2 separate regions of the Homo sapiens genome follow, and region 2 is linked to region 1. Evidence: promoter capture Hi-C in human tissues and cell types (Jung and others, 2019). All regions are on one chromosome and are shown on one strand. Each heading gives the region's core, a stretch centred on a gene start or on the middle of the fragment in contact. The rest is flanking DNA. Distances are from core to core; before and after follow the strand shown.

Region 1 (4,567 bases), core at 1,406-3,905:
TTACCACTGAATTCCCCAGCCTACACCAATATCTGCCACACTGCAAGGATGCATAAATATCTGCTGAGTGAATGAATACATCACAACTGAGATGCAATGCAATAACAGGATTTAGAAAGCAAATGTGGATTTCTGCTTTTCTGAATTTTAAGATGCCTCCTTCATTCATTCAACAAGTATTTAACAAAAATCTACTGTGTCCCAGGCCCTGTATTAGATGGGGAGCAAAGGAGATCTCACGATGCTTACAGTCCAGTGAGGTCTGAGGAAGACACTAGTCACCTAATCACAAATGCATTTACTCACGACCCATGCTGTGAAGAAAGGGCCCTATTGGCCAGGCATGGTGGTTCACACCTGTAATCCCGGCACTCTGGGAGGCCGAGGCAGGTGGATCACTTGCACCCAGTTTGAGACCAGTCTGGGAAAGATGGCAAAATCCGGTCTCTACAAAAATTTAAAAAATTAGCTGGGCTCAGTGGCACACACCTGTAGTCCCCAGTACTCAGGCTGCTGAGGTGGGAGGACCCCTTGAGCCCAGGAATTCAAGGCCAAAGTGAGCTATGTATGATGCCATCGCACTCCAGCCTGGGCAACAAAGCAAAACCCTATCTCTAAAAAAAAAAAAACAAAAACAAAGAAATTAATAAAGAAAGACCCTATAATGCCTATAACACATGGAATTATAATAGCACAAGATGGGCAAGGGCTGACCTCATCTGGGCCATCAAAGGAAGGGCTCCCTAAGCGTGGCCTGTGGGCCGAGAGTAGGGAATTCCAAGACCAACAGCCTATGCAAAGTCTCTGAAGCCGGAGAGAAGGTGCACAAAGAGACGGAAACCCAAAAAAGGCCAACATGGCCAGCCCACAGGCAGCCAAGGGGGCCAGTGAGAGCAGCTAAGGAAGGAAAGGTAGGCAAGGTTCCGCTCTGGCTTGCAGGCTCTGTGCACTAATGTGTTTGACCCTCATTCAAGGAGCATGAATTAACTGGCATTTGCTTCAATGGCTATGTACAGCATTCTGCCTCAGTTCCCTGGGCCCTGAAAGAAATGGCAGTTGGCTGGGCACAGTGGCTCACACCTGTAATCCCAGCAATTTGAGAGGCCAAGGCGGGCGGATCCCTTGAGCCCAGGCGTTTGAGACCAGCCTGGGCAACATGGCGAAACCCTGTCTCTACTAAAAATACAGAGATTAGCCAGGCATGGTGATGCCTGCCTACGGTCCGAGCTACTTGGGAGGCTGAGGCGGGAGGATCACTTGAGCCTCAGAGATGGAGGCTGCAGTCAGCTGTGATCACACCACTGTACTCCAGCCTGTGTGACAAAGTAAGACCCTGTCAAAAAAAAAAAAAAAAAAGGTAATAGCTCTTTACCTTTAATAGCTCATGGAATGACTCTCAAACCAAGAAATTTTTACTTAATCCTTTTACACGAAACAAACTGGAAAGAACACAGAAACTTAATGATTTCTACACTAGAGTCTAATGAGGAATAAGGCTTTCCAAGGAAAAACAGGCAAAGCACCAGAGGTGAGGTGCAAAGGGCTGTGGGCGCTGAAGGAGCGATGGGGAAGCAGGAGGCAGGGTCCTTCTGATCCAAGCCTCAAAGAAAACGGATCAAGACAGGGAAGGCGCAAGGGGCTTCCAGAAGAACGCGGGTTTAGTGTGGGATGCAGGGTTTTTGTTCGTTTTGTTTGTTGTTGTTTAGCAGAGAAGATATGGCAGAGAAAGCTCGAGGTTGAGGCCCCTTTAGCAAGGGCTCTGTGCGCCCAGCTCAAGCGTGCAGTACTTAGTTTAGCAGACAATGATGCCTCCCTGAGGACTTGGGGCAGGGGCTGGAAGGTCACAGCCCTTCTGGAAAGAGCAGCGAGGGTTGGAAGGAGGTCGTAAGTGACTGGATGAGGGCTGAGAACAGGAATGCTGTTGACAGCAAGGTGGTGGTACCAGGCTCACTCTCTGCTTCCTGAGTCTGCAGAGCAGTGGAGAATCCCGCGCGGGCACCCAGGGTGGCTACGGCAGCTAACAGCTCGGACCCGTCACTGTGGGCATGGCCTGGCGCCCTGACGTGCCACACCACGGTGCCACCCTCCCTTTATTTTCCACATCAACCGTCTGGGTGTGGGGGCTGCTCAACAGGACCACGACCTAAAACCTGGAAAGACGGCTGGCCTGACTCCGCGGCTGCTGCGCCCCCAGCAGGCGCGGACCGCCGGGCACCCCTTGTCCCTCCATCTTTTCGCCACGCGTTGAGGTCGACCCCAGGGAGAGGCGGTGACCTCGGCGCCCGCGCCTCTCCGGGACAGCCTGGGGCTCCACGGCGCGCGCCCTGGCCCCGGGTACTTTAGGGAGACGGGGATTACCATGGCGATTCTCAGCCGAGCAGGCAGGCGTGGTGGACTCTCCCGATCCCGAAGCCCTTAGCATCCACCGGGGCCGCTGCCCCCAGCGCCCGTTCCCCTAGCACCCCCGGCCCCTTCTCGGCCCTCCTCAGGGAACCGCCACGGGCCCAGCCTCACTACGCCTCCCCGCCACGCCTCGCTGGGAGGAGCGCGGCCGGCTCGGGAGGCAGCCAGCCGCGGAGCCGCCTGGACGCGAGGCACCTGCTTGCCCCACGCGGCACCTAGGCCGCCGCAGCTGTGGGCGCTGGGCCGGCGTGCGCCTCGGGGGCGGGGCCGCGCGCACAATCACCGGGCGTGGGGCAGGGCCTCGCCGTGGTTACCGTTGCCAGGGCAAAGCGGCAGCGCGCGGAGGGTGAGCGGAGCGGGGTTCCGGGCTTGCGCGCGCGGGATGGGCCGTCACCTAGTACGAGGCCGACCGCGGCCTCCAGCGCCCGGAAACCCAGTTCGGCGCTTTAGCGTCTGGGTTTGGGCTGCCGGAGCGGCGGGCGCGGGGCGAGGGGGCGGGCGCGGGGCGAGGGGGCGGGCGCGGGGCGAGGGGGCGGGCGCGGGCGGCGCTCCCACTGGGGTGGCACTGGGGTGAGAGCGCAGGCTAGGCCCGCTCACTCGGCCAACCTGGGAGAGATCATCGGAGAAGCTCTTTTGGGAAACGAGCATAAGGACTGTGACGGTGAAGGGAGAATATCATGGGAAATGTTTGCAAAAGAGCCGGATAAAGAGAGTAAGGGCCCGAGAGACTAAAGGGGTGGGGAGGGAGTTCATGTGCAGGTAGGATTGGGCGAGAAAGGTACAGTAGGTACAGTTTTGCCTCCAACCTTGCCAGTTCCAGCCTCCCTCCCTGCAGGTGAAGTCTACACTTCGGGTGGTACGACTCATTCTTTTTTATGACTGGTCATTCCTTTTTTTTTTTTTTGAGACCGAGTCTCTCTCTGTCGCCCAGGTTGGAGTGCAGTGGCGCCATCTCGGTTCACTGCAACCTCCGCCTCCCAAGTTTAAACCATTCTCCTGCCTCAGCCTCTTGAGTAGCTGGGATTACAGATGCGTACCACTATGCCCGGCTAATTTTTGTATTTTTAGTAGAGATGGGGTTTCGCCATGTTGGTCACGCTGGTCTCGAACTTCTGACCTCAGGTGATCTGCCCGCCTCAGCCTCCCAAAGTGCTGGGATTACAGACGTGAGCCACTGCCCGGCCTATCATTCCTTTTTATTCAACAGTTATTGAGCATCTGCCACGTGCCTGACACTCTTCCAGGCCCTGGAAATTGAGCTCTGAATGAGGCAAAGTCCTTGTTCTTTTAAGGGGTGATTTGGGGGAGGTGGTCGTGGCTGAAATGGAGGGCCTGGCAGACATTAAAAGTGATAGGGACAGTATGGCATATTGCATTAAATTGATGTGACCACTGGGTGCTCTTTTAGATTGGTGACTGGGGAAGGCCTCTCTGAGGAGGTGACGTTAAAACAGATCTGGATGACAAGGAGCAGTCAATTATGCCAAAATTAGGGACAGGGGGAGGAGGCTAGACCAAGAAGCAGGAGTAGGGTCCTGGAAGGCTCTGCAAGGATGTGGTGTTTTGTTTGCTTTCTCTTGAAAGACAAACTGGCTTCCAAAGAGGACTGTTTATGTTCTAGGTTCTCTTACATATGCTTTCCCTAATCCTTCATTAACAGAGCAAACCCAACTTCCAGCTACTTTTAATATGTCTGTGAGTTTTTCTTATGAGTCCATATGCCCTGGATATGGCAAATTCTCCTGCCCTCCACCTGCACTTTCTTCTCTTCTTGCGCCTGTCTTCATCCCTGGATGGGGCTGGCCCACCCCAGCCGCTTACACTTCTCTGGGTTATCTCAGCTCTCCCAAGGTTACCCCTATGGGATCACTCCCAAATCTGTTCCAGCCCTGCTTTTCCTGAGCTCCAGATCAGAGATCCAGAGCCCTGCTACAAGGTTGTTTTGTTTTCTTTCTTTTCTTTTCTTTTCTTTTTCTTTTCTTTTCTTTTTTTTTTTTTTTTGAGATGGAGTCTTGCTCTGTTGCCCAGGCTGGAGTGCAATGGCACGATCACTGCTCACTGCAACCTCTGCCCCTTGGGTTCAAGCAATTCTCCTGCCTCAGCCTCCCAAGTAGCTGGGATTACAAAGCATGCGCTATCACGCCCGGCTAATTTTTGTATTTTT
Region 2 (4,567 bases), core at 637-3,136, 140 kb after region 1:
TCTGTAAACATAAACCTGTGTGGGCTGTAAGAAATCAGGCTAAATCTAGAAGAAACTATTTAGAAACATAAGGATGGTTATTGTCTTTAAAAGTTGAAATTCGATCCAATATAATAGGTTTATATGCTAGTTCTTATCAACAAATAAGTCCTTATTATCATTTTAGTAAAACTACTGATCAGGCAAACATGGTATTCTGAAGAACTGTACCAAGAGAGCTGCAGTTCCTGCCATAGAGAAATATATATATAAAGGATAGCTGGGGGGGAAATAGGGAAATGTTGTGACTGAAGGGAAAAATACGGGCAGGGAGGGGAGAAATGTTTGCAATCTTTGCAGACTTCAGAGAGCACCATTTCTGTAAGTTCTGTTTTTGTTTTTTCTCCTCATTGTTCTTTTTCTTTACCCCCAGAGAAACAAATGAAGCATCAGGTTGAAAACAGAAGTGCAAAACAGTCACAGGAAACACAACCCATACATCACACCAGCAGCCGGAGGAAAGCCCCTGCCCACCAGAGATGACCAGGCAACAAGCCCTGGCCAGGCAACTCTCACACCTTTCCCAGCTTCGTGGATAATTAAGAAACAGTGGTGACCTAGTACCTAGGAACTAATCAGAACGTAGAGTAATAACTGTTTTTCCAACCACGGATCTTGGTAGGAGCTTCTCAGAGGTGATCCTTGTCACCCGTCAGAAATGGTTGCCTCTCATTATCAAGAAACAGAAGGAGAAACAAAACGACCAGTGAACTCACCATCCACTCAGGCATGTGAAAAGCTGAGGTGCCCTCATTACCGTCCCACTTCTCCATAGTGCAGGCTTGGGTAAGATATGTCCTGAAGCAAAAGGGAAAGCTGGTTTGGAAATACTGGGGTTATCTGAGTGCCCCAAAGCAGACCCAACCCTAGTGAGATTCAGAAGTTCACAGTGGCTAGCAGAAGCTGCATCCCTTTTCACAGCAGCCTCCGATTCAAATCAAGAGCATTAGTCAACTGCCTGACAACCCCTTACTGGCCGGCTTCAAAGCCTTCTGTGTCTGATTTCAAAATCAGAGCTGATGCAAAGTGCTGCACCCAGGCACTGTGCTTCTCACAGGGCACTCACTGTTTTAATGCTACCCAAACACTCTACCCGCACCTCCCCAGTGGGGACTTTCTGCAGCAATAGTTGGACTTCCTTCTTTCCCTGTGTGTGAGGCACTTGTGAATTCTCTCCCACCCTTCAGGACACGTCACTGGAGGTGCGGATACCAAGATCAATAAAGACTGAGGTCAGGAAGGCACTCCCATTTCTCAAGAGTTGCTTGATTTGGATCAGTAAACAGGCGTTTCCTTGAAATCAAGAGCTCCTAGGGCTTTCAAGTTTAAACAGCTATGCAGAAGCTCCCCATCTGCTCACACCAGGGGTCTGGCACCAAACTCTCGCATATCTCAAGTTAGAGTCTTATTGCATGGGAGGTTCGGATGGAGCCTAGGAAGATCTTTTTCAAAATCAGAATTTCTTAGCAGCTCTAAGAAAGTTCTGGGACGACAGCTCCCTCTGCTGGCTCCCTGTGCTACATACACGAAGGCCTCAGGGCCCGCAGCTACAGACACACAGGTGCTGATTGCAAAGTGACTTCACTGAGGCTAGTCAGAAGCCACCACAGTGTAGGTTTAGAGGACAGCCAGGGTTTCCAACCAAGACTAGTGCTGCCTCAAAGTCCCTAACCAATGCTGGATTTTACACACAGATCTGGTTTCAGGAAGAAACAGGATGCCAGTGCAGTAGCCCTGTACACTATCACCTTAAAGGACCTCCGAAGTTGTTTCTGCTTTATCTCTCCATACCAACTCCCTCCTTGCTGCACACTTCAGAATTTTGGAAATAAGACATAACTAGAAAAAAGGTAAGCTAGCCTATCTCACCTGCTTAGTTCATTCCTAGAGTATATTATCCAATAAGAGTACCACAGGTTTCAGGCACAAAGGAAGCCTAACAAGATATGCCTGCTTTGGTCCCTTTAAGGACCAGGACTCTTTACAGTGTTAATTCCCATTGAAGAGGATAGTTTCTCTACAGCTAACAGTGACAATATTATAATTATGATTATAGGCTCTGTGAAAGGAAAACATCTTGGGCCCCCAAAATCACTAAGCCAAAGGGAAAAGTCAAGCTGGAACTGCTTAGGGCAAACCTGCCTCCGATTCTATTCAAAATCACCCCTCTGCTCACTGAGATAAATGCACATCTGATTGCCTACTTTGAAGAGGCCAATCAAAAACTCAAAAGAATGCAACCATTTGTCTCTTATCTACCCATGACCTGGAAGCCCCCTCCCTGCTTCCAGATGTCTCGCCTTTCCAAACTGAACCAGTGTTCATCATACATATGTTGATTGATGTCTCATGTCCCCTTAAAATGTATAAAACCAAACTGTGTTCTGACCACCTTGGGCACATGTCATCAGGACCTCCTGAGGCTGTGTCATGAGTGCACATCCTCAATCTTGGCAAAATAAACTTTCTATAAACTTTTTTTTTTTTTTTTGAGACAGAGTTTTGCTCTTGTTGCCCAGGCTGGAGTGCAATGGCGTGATCTCGGCTCACCGCAACCTCTGCCTCCCAGGTTCAAGCAATTCTCCTGCCTCAGCCTCCCGAGTAGCTGGGATTACAGGCATGCACCACCACGCCCGGCTAACTTTGTATTTTTAGTAGACAGGGTTTCGCCATGTTGAGGCTGGTCTCAAACTCCTGACCTCAGGTGATCCACCTGCCTCAGCCTCCCAAAGTGCTGGGACTACAGGCATGAGCCAGCACGCCTGGCCAACCTTGGCAAAATACTTTCTAAATTAACCGAGACCTGTCTCAGATGTTTGGGGTTCACAGTTCATCACCCTGTAAGGCCTTCATTACTTAAGAGAATGGTCCTTTGGATTTGGAATGGAGGAGAGGAAGGTAATATCTATGGAAGAGGTACTGTAAGATGCCAGAGAGGGCAGAATTCAAATGAATGGCCAGAGGTTTGACTGGAGAGAAAGGCAGGTGAAAACAGGGACTGTTGAACCAGGTGCATTCAGACGTATCAAGGGATCACAGGGAGGGTGGAGAGCAGGCGAAATAAGAACAGCAGAGGTAGAAGTAAAGGAAGCTGTGGTCATAGAGGAGCTATGGAGTTGAGGCGACTTGAGTGATGTCAGGACACAGGGTGATGAGATGCAGGGAAAATAAGGCCCACTGAAGTCAGAGTGTCAACTCTGATAAAGTCTTAGCTCCTAGCAACCTCTAATTATTGTCCTCTGTCTTCCTTTAAACCCAGAGGACTTCTTAAAATGAGAAGTCACATCTGTTACCTAAATTGCCAATGGTGTATTTCATCTGTGCTTTAAATGCAACACATCTACAATCAACATTATTGCTGTCTTTCCTTTCCCGCCCCCCTCCAAACAACACTTTCTTCTCCTCACTTTTTGTGTTTGTGATGCCACTGTCCTCAGGCAACCATATATGAAACCTCAGGCACCTTTGATTTCCCCCTTTTCCCACAGTCCCCAGAACAATCACTTGGATATTATTTCTGTGCCCTCCTCCACCAAACCTTTCATCTATCCCTTTCTGTTCATTTTCACTGCCTCTTAACCCTCTACAAATCCTTTCCCAGAAGACAATCCACTTCATACCCATATATATATATATATACTCTATCCTCCAGGTAAACTGTATTATCTGCTACTTCTTGAATGTAAAGACTACACAGTATGGTGACCATGAACACTGGTTTTGGAATCAGACAGAGTTAGGTTAGAATCCTGCCTCTGCCACTTACTTGACCTCTCTATATAACTCCAATTTCCAATTTGTATGGTGGAAATAATAAGAGCTACCTACCTAACAGGACTGATGCAAGGATTTTAAAAGGGTACATACTCTAAGGAGTTAATTAATGGTAGCTCTTAATTATGTTATTATCATGCTGTGTTCTTTCCTACCTCAATGCCTTTGCTCATGTCATTTTCTCAAATCAAAATGCATTCGTTTCTGCCTTCACTTCCATTATCTTCACTTTTTCAAATATTTAAAGGAATGATAGTTCTACCATGAAACCTGACCTTAAAAAAGGAATCTCCCCTTCATCTAATATTGTTCTTTGGCTATATCACTATTCTCACCATTCCTCAAATTATAGTTCCTATGTATGTGTGCTACCCCTTGTTAGTCTCCAGGCTCTTCAGGGGCTTAGCCTACTTTGATTTGCCTACAATACCTGCGATATAGTAGGTGCTTAAGAAATTACCAAATTTAAAATTTATGTATGCTGTACGTATTCTTAATTATACTTTGGGGGCAACTTGCATACTCAATGTATTCAATATGTTTATGTCCATTTTATAGAATTTGGAACACTGTTTTATATTTATGAGGCTTAGTTATATTACTGACTACACCTATATGACTTATTTGACGAGAAGTCCTTAGTAGGGTTTTAGTCCTTAATTATATTATCTCTGCAGGAATATATAATCCATTTTCCATTGCTCGATCTGCACCCATTGTAATCCATTTTGATCTGCATTATAATGAAACTTTT

Evidence for each region. Contacts are between HindIII fragments. The study calls those that stand out against the background at their distance.
Region 2: a fragment that was not itself captured here is called in contact with the fragment with the promoter of SMKR1 in region 1 in 1 of the 25 tissues and cell types used here (bladder).

Annotation. Positions count from the first base shown.
Region 1 is chr7:129,500,619-129,505,185 of GRCh38, reverse strand. SMKR1 (small lysine rich protein 1) reads right to left here and starts at 2,655. Exons shown (of 2, transcript NM_001195243.2): 1 at 2,359-2,655. The coding sequence starts at 2,361. RefSeq lists silencers at 2,507-2,846, 2,907-2,956. The HindIII fragment of the contact is 29,122 bases long and covers 1-4,567 here.
Region 2 is chr7:129,364,740-129,369,306 of GRCh38, reverse strand. The region is part of intron 1 of AHCYL2 (adenosylhomocysteinase like 2); the gene reads right to left. LOC107986847 (a long non-coding RNA gene) reads left to right here. Exons shown (of 3, transcript XR_007060518.1): 3 at 413-1,283. Among named protein-coding and RNA genes, the nearest start is that of STRIP2, 67 kb to the left of the region's middle. The HindIII fragment of the contact is 5,247 bases long and covers 1-4,509 here.